Regions from separate parts of the Homo sapiens genome. Here regions 2, 3 and 4 are each linked to region 1. Evidence: promoter capture Hi-C in 16 types of primary human blood cells and fetal thymus (Javierre and others, 2016). All regions are on one chromosome and are shown on one strand. Each heading gives the region's core, a stretch centred on a gene start or on the middle of the fragment in contact. The rest is flanking DNA. Distances are from core to core; before and after follow the strand shown. Region 1 holds the start of IKBKB (inhibitor of nuclear factor kappa B kinase subunit beta). Region 2 overlaps KAT6A (lysine acetyltransferase 6A). Region 3 overlaps KAT6A (lysine acetyltransferase 6A). Region 4 overlaps KAT6A (lysine acetyltransferase 6A).

What was found. Contacts are between HindIII fragments. The CHiCAGO score rates a contact against its expected background, and 5 or more counts as called.
Region 2: a fragment that was not itself captured here is called in contact with the fragment with the promoter of IKBKB in region 1 in 1 of 17 cell types (non-activated CD4 T cells); the score reaches 5.3 in non-activated CD4 T cells.
Region 3: a fragment that was not itself captured here is called in contact with the fragment with the promoter of IKBKB in region 1 in 2 of 17 cell types (neutrophils and total B cells); the score reaches 7.0 in neutrophils.
Region 4: a contact is called between a fragment that was not itself captured here and the fragment with the promoter of IKBKB in region 1, in 4 of 17 cell types (naive CD8 T cells, activated CD4 T cells, naive CD4 T cells and 1 more). The highest score is 5.9, in naive CD8 T cells.

What each region holds. Positions count from the first base shown.
Region 1 is chr8:42,269,790-42,273,167 of GRCh38, forward strand. IKBKB (inhibitor of nuclear factor kappa B kinase subunit beta) reads left to right here and starts at 1,513. Exons shown (of 22, transcript NM_001556.3): 1 at 1,513-1,680; 2 at 2,294-2,416. The coding sequence starts at 2,312. IKBKB-DT (IKBKB divergent transcript) reads right to left here and starts at 1,461. Exons shown (of 4, transcript NR_185843.2): 1 at 862-1,461. RefSeq lists an enhancer at 508-1,007 and a silencer at 1,504-1,793. The HindIII fragment of the contact is 12,915 bases long and covers 1-3,378 here.
Region 2 is chr8:41,945,822-41,949,199 of GRCh38, forward strand. It overlaps KAT6A (lysine acetyltransferase 6A), which reads right to left. Exons shown (of 17, transcript NM_006766.5): 11 at 1,930-2,091; 12 at 770-863. Among named protein-coding and RNA genes, the nearest start is that of KAT6A-AS1, 100 kb to the right of the region's middle. The HindIII fragment of the contact is 4,864 bases long and covers 1-3,378 here.
Region 3 is chr8:41,971,090-41,974,467 of GRCh38, forward strand. The region is part of intron 8 of KAT6A (lysine acetyltransferase 6A); the gene reads right to left. Among named protein-coding and RNA genes, the nearest start is that of KAT6A-AS1, 79 kb to the right of the region's middle. The HindIII fragment of the contact is 756 bases long and covers 1,123-1,878 here.
Region 4 is chr8:41,994,265-41,997,642 of GRCh38, forward strand. The region is part of intron 2 of KAT6A (lysine acetyltransferase 6A); the gene reads right to left. Among named protein-coding and RNA genes, the nearest start is that of KAT6A-AS1, 56 kb to the right of the region's middle. The HindIII fragment of the contact is 3,556 bases long and covers 1-3,378 here.

The DNA of each region.
Region 1 (3,378 bases), core at 263-2,762:
CTGCTGCTATCAATACCTCATTTGTCCCTCACAACAACTCTGGGGTGGCCTCCTTTCTATGACTTTCTATGAGCCCGCCTGTCCCCCTGCTATTACAATGAAGCAGATGAAACTGCTGATCTTTGTTACTGATGTTTTGGCTGTTTTCAATTTCCAAAAAATGACAATTAAATGCAATTCAACCTAATATTGCCTAAATTTTAAAAGAGGAAATAGGTTCTCACAGTGTTTAAGTAACCAGCCCCCGTGCCTCAGAGGTAGTCAACAGCAGTATCTGGATTCAAAATCCAGTTTGCCTCCTTCTGAACTTCTTAACATGCTACTTTTAGCCACGGATTAAGAACCCGGGAACCAGTTGCTAGGGTTTGAGTATCAGCTCATCTACGTAGCAGCCATGTACCTTGGAAATAATAATAATGCAGACCAGGTGCAGTGGCTCACAGCCTGTAATCTCAACACTTTGGGAAGCCCAGGCGGGTGGATCCCTTGAGCCCAGGAGTTGGAGACCAGCCTGGGCAACACAGTGAGTGAGACCCCGCCACCAGGTATGGCGGCCGCGCACCTGTAGTCAGGAGAATCACTTGAGCCCAGGAGTTGGAGGTTGCACTGAGCTGTGATCACACCACTGCACTCCAGCCTGGGTGACAGAGCGAGATAATAATAATAATGATGATGATGATGCAGTATTTTCCAATTTACAGGGTTGCCCTGAGGATTGAATAAGGAAATCTAAGTACAGAGATTTAGAACAGAGCCCTGCACTGTGTAAGCACTCTATAGATGTGAGCTATTATTATCATCTTCAGGTTCCTTTGGTAGTTTTTTTCTGCTTGAATAAAATATAGCAACACACACACACACCTCCTTTGTCCACTAATGTAATCCCATAAAACGGAGAAACTCAGCAGTGAGGACATTCTGATTCCAAGCAGGAAGGAGATGAACGATGAACCTCAGGCTGAGCGCCTCACGGTTTCCTCATGTCACCGGGGCTGGGGGTGCAGTTTGGCTTCACACTGCTAGGTCTTTTCTTGTTTTTAAGGGGGCAGGGGCTGTCACCTCTGAGGAGTCAGCTGTGATTGATCCTTCTCCACACCCAGCCAAGCACCCCCCAGACAGGGGAGCGCCCGCAGTAGGGCGGTAGGCAAGGGCAGTTCTAGCCAACAGTCCCTAAATCATCCCAGCGGGGGCGCGGGAAATTCCACCGAGGTGAAAGCCTAGGGGGCCGGGTGAAGAAATCCCCATACCCGGGCCCAGAAACCGCTCCAGGTGGAAGTAACTTGTCTAAAGAGAACAGGGTGTAACGGGGGTCATTTCAGGGCTGTTCTTTTAAATCGGTGAGCACGGTCTGTCTACTTTCCCTCAGTTGTCTAGAGACCACACGCCACCCCCGCCCCGGGGGAGTCGCCCGGTCGAGGGTCCCGGGACAGGCGCAGCACTCGCAGCATCCGGACCTGGTCTGCCTCGCGCCGGGAGCGGCCTCTTTAAGAGCGGCCGCGGCCAACGTGCTCCGTGACGTCAGAGCAGGAAGTGTTTGAGGAAGTCGCGCCGCGCTGCCCGCGTTAAGATTCCCGCATTTTAATGTTTTCAGGGGGGTGTCATAGCCCCGGGTTTGGCCGCCCCAGCCCCGCCTTCCCCGCCCCGGGGAGCCCGCCCCCTGCCCCGCGTCCCTGCCGACAGGTGAGTCCCCCTCGTGGGTGCGGCCCGGGTGCCACCTGCAGGCCCCGCCGCCCCGCTGCCTGCAAGGCCCGGAAGACCCCTCTGTGCCGCTGGGAAGTCGCAGCTTGCGGACTGGGGAGCGTTTCACTTGTGCGGGTTGGAGTTCGGGAAGCCGGGAGAAACAGCTCTCCCTGGGGTGGCTTCTTGGGGGTGGGTGGCTTTGAGGGGAACCTGCGATTTATGGGAACATTGTAAAGAAACACGTGACCTCGGCGATGCTCAGAAGTAGGTTCTGCCCCTGCCACCTCGGGCAGAAGGCGGGCAGGCCCGGGCGCCCCTGGTGGAGTCAGCTGGGGATCCCCTCGCTAGGGCAAGGGCGTGGGCATCGCCTCCCTCGGTGACTTTCTTCCTTGCCTGATGCCACAGCAACCGGATGGGGGAGGGTGAGAGGGACAAAAGTTTGCCACAAAGTTTGGACCAACCAAACACATTGGTTTCTTTACAAAATAAAAAACCAGTTGTATTTTTCTTCTCTCCCATTCAAGAGCAGTGGTATCTCTTGCCTTCTCCATCCCTTTGAGCTCCATTTTTTTCTTAATCCTAACCTTTTTTCCCCATCCCAAATTGCTTATAGAGTTAGCACGACATCAGTATGAGCTGGTCACCTTCCCTGACAACGCAGACATGTGGGGCCTGGGAAATGAAAGAGCGCCTTGGGACAGGGGGATTTGGAAATGTCATCCGATGGCACAATCAGGTAGGCCCTCTGTGCAGCTTGGGGAGGGGCGGGGAGCCAGGCCCCCTCCTCACTGCCTCCACTTTCTCTGATCCTGCTGGGCCAAGGGCTCACCTTTGGCTTTGGTCATCTTGGGACAGTGAATAGGGGGACTGGGAAGAGGGCTTCAGGACTTCTGAGCTGACTCCAGGTTAGTGGTCTCCATGCTTTATTGACTATGTCACCTAAATAAATAGTAAAATAAAGTTAAGCTCTTAGTCTCTATTATATATATATGGTAACAGTAGAATATCATGTACTAATATATACTGATATTATATGTTATAAAACATATAGAAATAGGAAAATTTAAAGGATGAGACTAAATAAATAATTTAAAATATTTTAATTCCTTGAGGCCAGTAGTTCAAGAGCAGCCTGGGCAACATAGCAAGACCTCGTCTCTACAAAAAAGGTTTAAAAATTAGGCAGCCAGCTGGGCGTGGTGGCTTATACCTGTAATCTCAGCACTTTGGGAGGCTGAGGCAGGCGGATCACGCAGTCAGGAGATGGAGACCATCCTGGCTAACACTGTGAAACCCCATCTCTACTAAAAATACAAAGAATTAGCCAGGCTTGGTGGCACGTGCCTGTAGTCCCCAGCTACTTGGGAGGCTGAGGCAGGAGAATCGCTTGAACCCATGAGGCGGAGGTTGCAGTGAGCCAAGATTGCGCTACTGCACTCCAGCCTGGGTAACAGAGTGAGACTCCGTCTCAAAAAAAAAAAAAAAAAAAAAACCTTAGGCAGCCTTGGTGCGTACCTGTAGTCCCACTACATTGGAGGCTGATGTGGGAGGATTGCTTGTCCAGGAGTTTGAGGCTGTAGTGAGCTATGATTGTGCCACTGCACTCTAGCCTAGGTGACAGAGTGAGACCTTGTTTCAAAACCATTTTTTAAAAATTATTTTAAATGTCGGGTGCAGTGGCTTACACCTGTAATCCCA
Region 2 (3,378 bases), core at 272-2,771, 320 kb before region 1:
ATCGAGACCATCCTGGCTAACACGGTAAAACCCCGTCTCTAGTAAAAATACAAAAAAATTAGCCGGGTTGTGGTGGCTGGTGCCTGTAGTCCCAGCTACTCGGGAGGCTGAGGCAGAAGAATAGCCTGAACCCAGGAGGCAGAGCTTGCAGTGAGCCGAGATCACGCCACTGCACTCCAGCCTGGGTGACAGAGCGAGACTCTGTCTCTCAAAAAAAAAAAAAAAAATTCGTGTCCAACCAAAATAAAAGGAACGTGTGGCTTTAGGTTTTATTTATTTCCATTTTTATTTTGAGACAGAGTCTTGCTCTGTGGCCCAGGCTAGGGCCTGCAATGCAGGGGTAGCATTGCTCACTGCAGCTTCAACCTCCTGGGCACTCAAGTGATCCTCTCACCTCTGCTTCCTGAGTAGGTGGAACCCTAGGTACATGCCATCATGCCCACCTAACTTTTTAAATTTTTTGTAGAGACAGGGTCTTGCCATGTTGCCTAAGCTGGTCTTGAACTACTGGGCTCAAGCAATCCTCCCACCCCAGTTTCCCAAAGTGCTGGGATTAGAGGTATGAGCCACAGTGTCCAGCAGTGGCTTTAGGTTTTAAAGAATCATATAGCTATATGACAAAAGATACTAGCAGCCAACAAAGCACCTACAAATCTTTAAATATATATATATACACACACACACACACACACACACACACACACACACACACACACACACAGAGAAGGTCCACTGGAAAAGACCAATGAGAAATTAATATAATCCTTACTGAAATCGATGAGAAACCTGCCATAGCCCTTACGCTGGTATTGAGGAAGAATCATTATACAGGAAACATTGTACTTCTGTTGGCAGTGCTTTTCCTGGTGGAGAAAACACAAGTCAAGTTTGAAAACAGGCTGGTAAAAGTGAATAATAACGTGAATTAAGAAACAAAGACTAATGGCCAAAACCCACAGCCCTGGTCCTTTGGGAATAGCAACGTACATCAACAAACAACTACCCAGCTGGGAGAAGATAGGATAATGTCAAGTCACTGCCATTACCCACAAAGCAACCATCCCAGGAGAGTAAAAATATATAACAAAACAATGCCATCCAACACCATCTGCAACTCAAACACAGTACGCCAATGCCTAAGGATCAGCACCGGAATCTGAGTCCCAAACAATCCGTAAAGCTACAAATGATGAATCAGTGTGCCACTCTAGAAGTGAGAAGACTCATTAATTATGTCAGAGTTTTCTTTCTCTCCTGCTCTGGTGCTCCTCAGAGCAGTCCTATTAGTTGTATCTAACTTTACACAAAATAGTCACTTTTATAATTTTATAAATGAGTGAATATATTTTAAGTCACATCTAACTAATGAAGTAGCCTAAAGAATTCTTATAAATGCTTATAAAAAGCTAGTACTTCCCCTAACTGTTTTATACACTTGGATTTTACCACAGGCTTGCTTAAATAAAAGTATATCTTTTATGTTCTCTGACTAGAAATAAACTTTCTCCCTCTAAGGGAATGGAAGATTAAAAAAGGAGAAAATATCCTTTAACCAAAATGCCTTCTTACTCTTATTTCTATGCCTAAAGTTCAAATAAGGAAGAGAAGATTGAAGCTGAGACAGAACTCAGAGAGCTAATGACTGTTTATTTCAGAAGTTCCATGTTATTACCATGGGAAGAGAAGCCATTTAAAACCTTCCCCGTGAGTATTGCCAGCAGTCCATAATCCTAGGAGAATATAGGTTGTTGAATGTTACTAAGCACCTTCTAGCACCTGGTAAGTTTCCAAATGTTCCTTCTATTCTTTCCAAACAGCTAGATGACACCTAGGAGGTGCTGCATCTTGTTGTGTCCCCGAGTGAGAACCAGCAAAGATTCTTTCAGATTTCTATATGAGTTCAAACAAACTTTAAGCTGACATACTTACCTTAGAAAAGTAGCCAACAAGGTGGCAGCCCTTGACATCATTCTGTGTTAGTACATAAAAAAGAAATGGCTCCACATCGTAATAGAGGGTTTTGTGGTCAAGAAACAACTTTGCCAAAAGACACAGGTTTTGACAATAAATGGTACTCACATTCCCATCAACCTAGAGAAATAAACAGAACAAAACAGTCAGTAGAGGGTCTCTTTAGTTCTAGAATAATATGTATCAGTTAAAAGCATCTCTAGATATCCACAGTCCAGACTAGGAGAAGGTGTCCATGACCAGAACACTTTGGAACCTGGAAGCCATCCTTTGAAATGGCAGTATTATGCTATCTGCTGTTTTAAGACAACCAAATATATAAAACCTCATACCTTCAACATAGCAGGAACAGCCAGATAAGGAAGTGATAATCTGGTTTTAAAAGAGCAATTTTTGCTTTAATAAAAAGATGAATTGTAGCAATCCTTTAGATAGCAAGTTTCGTTTTCAAAGTACTTAACACAACAAAAGATCTAAATACAACCCTTCTAAAATACATTTATTAGGTAAAAGAAGATGTAACTATGTAGTCTAATCTATGCCAGCTGCCTGAAGCAATGCAATCTGACTACCATGATCGGGCTTGAACCCAGATAAAACTACTTAAGGGGGTACTAACTATTGCCACGCAGAAGCACCAAGCGGGTTCCTCAAGCAATCATGTGGTAAATGAGGCTCCAGGTTGGCCAGGCCCAGGAGCACTCTGCTGCTCTTTTGCTCCTGGCAGCCTTGTCTGTGTTCATGGAGTTGCCAGAGCTTTCTATCAAAACGCCAATGGATGCCCACATTAGCTCCCAAGACACTGTCTGCGATACTAACAGAACTCCTCAACAACCCAGGTAGTTTAATATTCTCTTCAAACAGTATATACCACACCTACCCCAGCTTCTCCCAAGGTAAAGAACTCCTCTACTGATCACTTAAAAGAGTCTTAGGGAGGACCAAGAAAAGTGAGAGACTGAGGGGATCCTGACAATCTGAAATTTTACTGTTACAGTAAGTAAACGGCACATAAGCAAGTACTCAATTAATACTTGGCACGAAAACCACAGAACTGAGGATCAAGAGCGCTACTAACAGCAATAGAGAATCACAGAGCAGAGGTCACACATCATCATCATCATCATCATCATCATCAAGATTTACTATTAAACAGATCTCTGTGAGATATTCCTTTTAAATAAGTGATAGAAATCCTTTCATTTAAATGCCATATTTCATAGATTCTAAGATGTACTTTTATCACATCTTAATATATGCAAAATCAACTGGCATTTTATAATCAAATGAAGTTTTAAAAATTATAATTAGTACTTTTTCCATTTTAGTGATACATAAAATAGACAATAGAAAGTTGCACAATAGATGCAATATAGGTGGCCCTACTTATGAAATGGATGAGAGGAC
Region 3 (3,378 bases), core at 251-2,750, 300 kb before region 1:
GGAGGGATAGCATTAGGAGATATATCTAATGTAAATGACGAGTTAATGGGTGCAGCACACCAACATGGCACATGTATACATATACGTAACAAACCTGCACGTTGTGCACATGTACCCTAAAACTTAAGGTATAATTTAAAAAAAAAAAAAAAAAGAAAGGCCTCGTTCTCAAGGCACTTACATTCTAGAAATAAAAAATTTAAATTCAAGAGGTGGTAGGTACTATGCAGAAAAAGCAGGCAGGTCAGGGGATAGAGTGACACAATGGGCTGTAAGCTATTTTCGTGTGGATATGAGCAAGACCTAAATGGAATGGGCAGTGAACCTACTAAATCATCGACTCTAGAGGAAGGGCCATCGAGGCAAGGTGCAGCGACTGCAAAGGCCCAAGGCAGGCATGCTTGGTGTGTCTGAGGAAGAGGAGGCGGCTGTGGCTGGAGTAGCCTGAGAGCAAAAAGAGCAGCCAAAGAGGGAGGCAGGCACAAAATCATATACAGCCTTGGAGATGAGAGAACAGACTCTTTTTTTTTTTTTTTAATTCTAAAGAAGACTGTAAGACATGAAAGGTTTTCTAAGCAAGGAAGTGGTATAATCCAACCTACGTTCAAAAATAATTACCCTGGCCGCTGTATGAAGAAAATAGACTAGAGAGTGGGGTGGTGGCAAAAGCAGAAGCAAGTTTAGTCTGGAGGCAATTATAGCAGCCTAAGCCAGAGATGACAGTGGGTTGGCAGTAGCAAATACAGACATATTCTGAAGGCAGAACCATTAGGATTTGCTGATGGACTGAATGTGAAGTATGACAGAGAAAAAAAAAATCAAGATGACATCTCTGTGGGCCTAAGCAAGTACAGGATAGAGCTACCATTTACTCTTGTTCACCACTAAAAGCCAGAATCTATGGCTACAACAGTAAGAGCCTAGAACATCTTGCTGTGGCCAGAAGTAAATAAAAATGATGATGATGTGTTAAAAGGACAGAGGAGCTTCTAGAAAGGAGTTCCCCTCTGCCTAAATTTGGAACAATTTAAGCATCAAAATAAATACTAATAGCAATGGATTATAACCATAAAATAATCTATGAGTTTAAACAAAATGAATAAACAAATAGGAAGAAGAAAAAGCTTCTCCTTACAATAGAATGCCAATTAATAAATGGCAAAGAAATGATAGAATTAGAAAATAATGTTTGGCCACCAACAAAGTAAATGATTCAGGCAAAAATCATCTCTGGATGCTAAATGTGGTAGATAAAAGTTTGATGAAAAACAGGTTATCTGCATTTCTGTCTCAAAGTATGTCCCCCCAAGATACTTAATTATAGGTAGAAAGCAATGTTAGAGAAGAAACATGGATACCACCTAAACCAGGTGGTCACTGTTAGCAGCACTTGTGATGAGAACTTGGATATTACATGCCTTCTGATGTGACACACTGAGGAGGACACAGCACACCTGTGGAATTTTCTAATCATGAAAAATAAAACAAGCTCAAAGTGATGACATTCTATAAATGACCTGTGCACTTCAAAACTGTCAAGGTCATGAAAGATAAAGACTGAGGAACTGTTCCCAATTGGAAGGAGACTAGAGAGACGTGACAACTAAATTAGATAATAGTACTTAATTTGTGTTAAATTCCTGATTTGATGATTGGACCATGGTCATGTATGAGAACATTTCTGTTTTTAGGAAATACACACAAAAAATTAGGAGTAAAGGGATATTAACACATTATGTCTGCAACTTACTCGGGAGGAGAAAAAAAAATTCTTTCAGTCAGGAAGAACATAACTACTGCCTCCTTTCAGTTCCCACTGAAGTCCATGTAGATTTCTACTAGAGTACCTATAATAACTCACTAGCATGAAAGGAAACAAGCTTTGAGGGCAACCTGCCCAAAGGAGAAGTTAGTAAATGACAGATCAAGACTTGAACCCAGATCCACCTGAATCAAAGCCAATATTTTGTTAAATCATAATACAGCAGAATGCTGAGTAAATGCGTGCTGAGTATTTGTACTGCTGTTTTATTTTTCCAAAAGTACTCACATAATGACCGACATCAACAGTCTATTCACCACCACTGGGTCTCTTAATATGAAGAGTTTTCCCTAGAACCCTCGGCATCAGCCTTAGAATTTTTTTTTTTTTTTGAGATGGAGTCTCACTCTGTTGCCCAGGCTGGAGTGGTGTGGCACGATCTCGGCTCACTGCAACCTCCACCTCCCGGATTCAAGTGATTCTTCTGCCTCAGCCTCCCGAGTAGCTGGGACCACAGGCGTGTGCCACCGGCTAATTTTTGTATTTTTAGTAGAGACGGGGTTTCACCATGCTGGCCAGGCTGGTCTCGAATTCCTGACCTCAAGTGATCCACCCGCCTCGGCCTCCCAATGTGCTGGGATTACAGGGGTGAGCCACCGTGCCCAGCCTAGAAATTCTTCTTTTCAAGATAAAAGAGAACTTGGCTTACATGGTACATTTGTTGGTGGCAAAGAAGGAAAAGACAAAAAATAAATGAACATAATCTGGAAGAGCCTTTATGATCTAGCCCCTGCACTTTTCCAACCTCACCTCCTGCCATTCTCCACACCCTATATTCTTTATCCTGAGCCATTTTAATTCCCACAATTAAGCATGTTTTCCCCTATCTTCAAGTCTATTCCACCTTCACTTCTGTTCCTTCTGATTATATAAGAACCAACTCCCTACATATCCCTTTAAGGGATATGTACAACTCCTACATATCCTTTAAGGCCCCTCAATGAATCCTCCTCTGACCTCCCCAGGCAGAAGTAGAAGCTGGCTTCCCTATTCTCCCAAAACATCAAGTATTCTATAATTGAACTTTTCATATTAATGACATTACTTATTCACAAATCTCTCCTATAGTTCAGGGAAAGAATTCAGTCATTCACTGGCATCTCCAGCATGTGGCACATAGACTCTGTCTATATATTTACGATCTTGCCATGTGTCACAAAGAATTGCAATTTTTTTTTTTTTGGAAGACAGGGTCTCACTCTGTCACCCAGGCTGGAGTACAGTGGCATGATCTCAGGTCACTGCAACCTCCATTTCCCCAGCTCAAGCAATTCTCCTGCCTCAGCCTCCTAAATAGCTGTGACTACAGGTGTGCACCAACATACCTGGCTAATTTTTCTATTTTTTTTTTGAGATGGGGTTTTGCCATTTTGCCCCAGCTGGTCTCAAACTCCCAGACTCAAGCAATCCACCCACCTTGGCAAAGTGCTAGGATTACAGGCATGAAATACTTCTTGAATTAATAAATATAGGTGTTTTATCACTCATGAGAAGCTTGTTTTTTGTTTGTTTTTGGTCAAATCCCAAATTCTTCTTCATACAGTAAGACAAAAAAT
Region 4 (3,378 bases), core at 376-2,875, 280 kb before region 1:
CATTCAGCTGCCCCCAACTCTCCAGTCCAATTGCTTCCATCTCAGATTAAATGCCACATGAACTACAAGGTACTGTGTGATCTGTACTCCCCTGCTTTCCCCCTCAGTTACCTGCCTGACCTCATCTTCTATTGCTCTCTCCCTCTACACTCCACTCCAGCTTCCTTGCTTAGGTTTTCAAGGCAGTGGTTACAGGCACAGGGCCTTTGCATTTGCTTTCCTTCTATATCTAGAATGTTCGTCCCAAGATCTTTCAGATCTCTACTCAGGAAGTCACCTTCTCAGTAAGGCTTTTTTTGAACACCCCATCTAGCATTTCAAAGCAACCCACCAACCCCAATAATTCACAAGTTCCTTCCCTGCTTTGTTTTTTCCCCTTAACCCTTTTCACTAATTAACATGTGTGTATGTATATCTTATTATTTATTCTTAACTAAATGTAACTTCTATGAAGACTCTGATTTTCACCTGTTTTTTAGGACCATATTCTTACTACTAAAAGCAATGCCTAGGCTGGGCACGGTGGCTCACACCTGTAATCCCAGCACTTTGGGAGGCTGAGGCAGGTGGATCACGAGGTCAGGAGTTCAAGAGCAGCCTGGCCAACGTGGTGAAACCCCGTCTCTATTAAAAATACAAAAATTAGCCAGGCATGGTGGCAGGCACCTGTAATCCCAGCTACTCAAAAGGCTGACGCAGGAGAATCGCTTGGACCCAGGAGGCAGAGGTTGCAGTGAGCCAAGAACGTGCTACTGCACTCCAGCCTGGGCAACAAGAGCGAGACTCCATCTCAAAAAAAAAATAAAAATAAAAATAAAAACAATGCCTAGTATATAGAAGTCACTCAATAAGTATTACTGAATAATTAATTGAATTACCTTGTAGAACTAGATATAATAAGAGTACCTTACATAGAAAGAACAATGAGTTGGGTATGAGCCTGATAAAAAGCCATGTGTAGTGCAGTAATAATCACAGCAGTACAGAAATGCTCTATTGTTTACAAAGCAATCTCACAAAGTGATTTCATGGCCATAACTAAGTAAGATTTCTGCCATAGCAACTCAAAAGCAGAGGGAGATTTGAGGCAGAGGGCACCAATATTGTGTACCTTGTGTCGTCGGTTGCCCTACATCTCCTTTAAGCACCCTGTTGAGATCTCTATAATAATCACCAGATGGCAGTATTGAGGCAAACACAGGGTGGATGATTCGGTAACAAGCAGGCATTCTGACTTGAACTTTTAAAAACAGGAACAGTAAAAATTTTGCCCAATGCTCTCTGTTGAAGTTTATACCATGAAATAATTTTTAATCATAACCATTTAGAATATCTTAAATAATGACATTTTCTAGATACACAGATATATCATCTGAGATATTCCCATCTAAAAAGTCCAATTTTCATTTCTTTTTTTTTTTTTTTTTTTGAGATGGAGTTTTGCTCTTGTTGCCCAGGCGGGAGTGCAATGAGGTGATCTCAGCTCACTGCAACCTCCATCTCCTGGTTCAAGTGATTCTCTTGCCTCAGCCTCTCGAGTAGCTGGGATTACAGGCATGTGCCACCACACCCAGCTAATTTTGTATCTTTAGTTGAGACGGGGGTTTCACTAGGTTGGTCAGGCTGGTCTCGAACTCTTAACCACAGGTGATTCACCCACCTTGGCCTCCCAGACTGCTGGGATTACAGGAGTGAGCCACCACGCCCGGTCCCAATTTTCATTTCTTTCCCCCAATACTGTCTTTAATTTTTTAAAGGCCATAAACCTTATCTCTATTTTCTAATATCTTCTGAGGCACTCAAATCTAACTTTATTTTGTCTCTATTCTTAAACACTGACAAAAAGAACAGTCAAGAACCTGTTTTATTATATGCAATTATTTCTAGTTAAGACTGAATTGAATGATAAATTCTATAATTTGTCACCACTGAAATTTTCATGGAAAAAAACTGCACTTGTAAACTCAAACTCATAACTTTGGAAACCTCTAAGAGATCACTTAATAAGCAATCAGGCAATACAGGTATGTGGTTTCTAAAAGCTACAAAATTTCTCAAGTTTTACAGCCACTGGAAATTACTGAGACACACTGGCATATCCAATTAAAAGAGTATGGAAGAAGTACACATATAATTCATGTAATACTCCCTATAACACTCAAACATGCACTAAGCAACAAAAAAGGATAATGAGCACATCCTACCATAGATTTAAATACAAAACATCTATAAAGTATCTATGGTTTCAATGTCCCCTCCAAGTCTGGTGTTGTTAAGAGGTGGGGGCTTTCGGAAGGTAATTGGGCCATGAGGGCTCCACCCTCATGACTAGATTAATGCTGTTATCAGGGGAGTGGGCTAGTTATCGTTGGAATTTGGCCCCCTTTTCCTCTCTGTCTTGCGTGCTCGCTTCTGTCTTCTGCCCTTATGCCATGTTATAGCACTGCAAGAAGGCCCTCACAGAGAGATGAGGCCCCTTGATCTTAGACTTCTCAGTCTCCAAAACTATGAACCAAATAAACATATTTTCTTTATAAATTACCCAGTGTGTAGCATTCTGTTACAACAGCAGAAAACAGACTAAGGCATACACAAAACTTATGTTCAACTATAATTATTGCAACTCGTTTCTTTAAAATCTAGTAGTGTACCACAAAAGGACATATATTATATATTATATGATTCCATTTATATGAGGTACCTAGAATAGACAAATTCATAGAGACAGAAAATAAAACAGGTTACCAAAGGCCATGGGAAGTGGAGAATGGGAAGTTATTGTTTAATGGATACAGAGTCTGTTTGAGATGATGGAAACGTTCTGAATGGATGGAAAAGAAATTGATGGTATCACGACAGTGTGAATGTACTTAATGCCACTGAATTATACACTTAAATAGTTAAAATGGTAAATTTTTATATAAATTTTACAATATAAAAATGAACAAAACCAATTAGTATAGATTTTTCATATTCTCACAAATCAGATGATTTAAGTAATAGGTCAAAACCCATGCAATGAAAAGCAACTACTATAATTTGTTCTCATCTTGAAACCTGTATTTTTAACCATTCCTGTGGAACCCTAGGAATATGTTAAATCTGGTATGCAGTAAACAGAATTAGAAATATAATTGTAGCCCATCAAAAATGGAAAAAAAAGTTACTAATAACAATTATATTTGGCTACTGAATTTAAATGTTAGCCATTTTATTTTCACTGTACCTACATGGAAGTTAGTTATCTTTTAATCCAATTGCATAAAAACAACTCACTTTGTCTTAAGAAAAATTTTTAAGAATTAAATCTATAGATCAAACACTTTTCAGTCTCAAACAAAAAATTCTTTCTGACCACCATATATCTTATCCATCCAG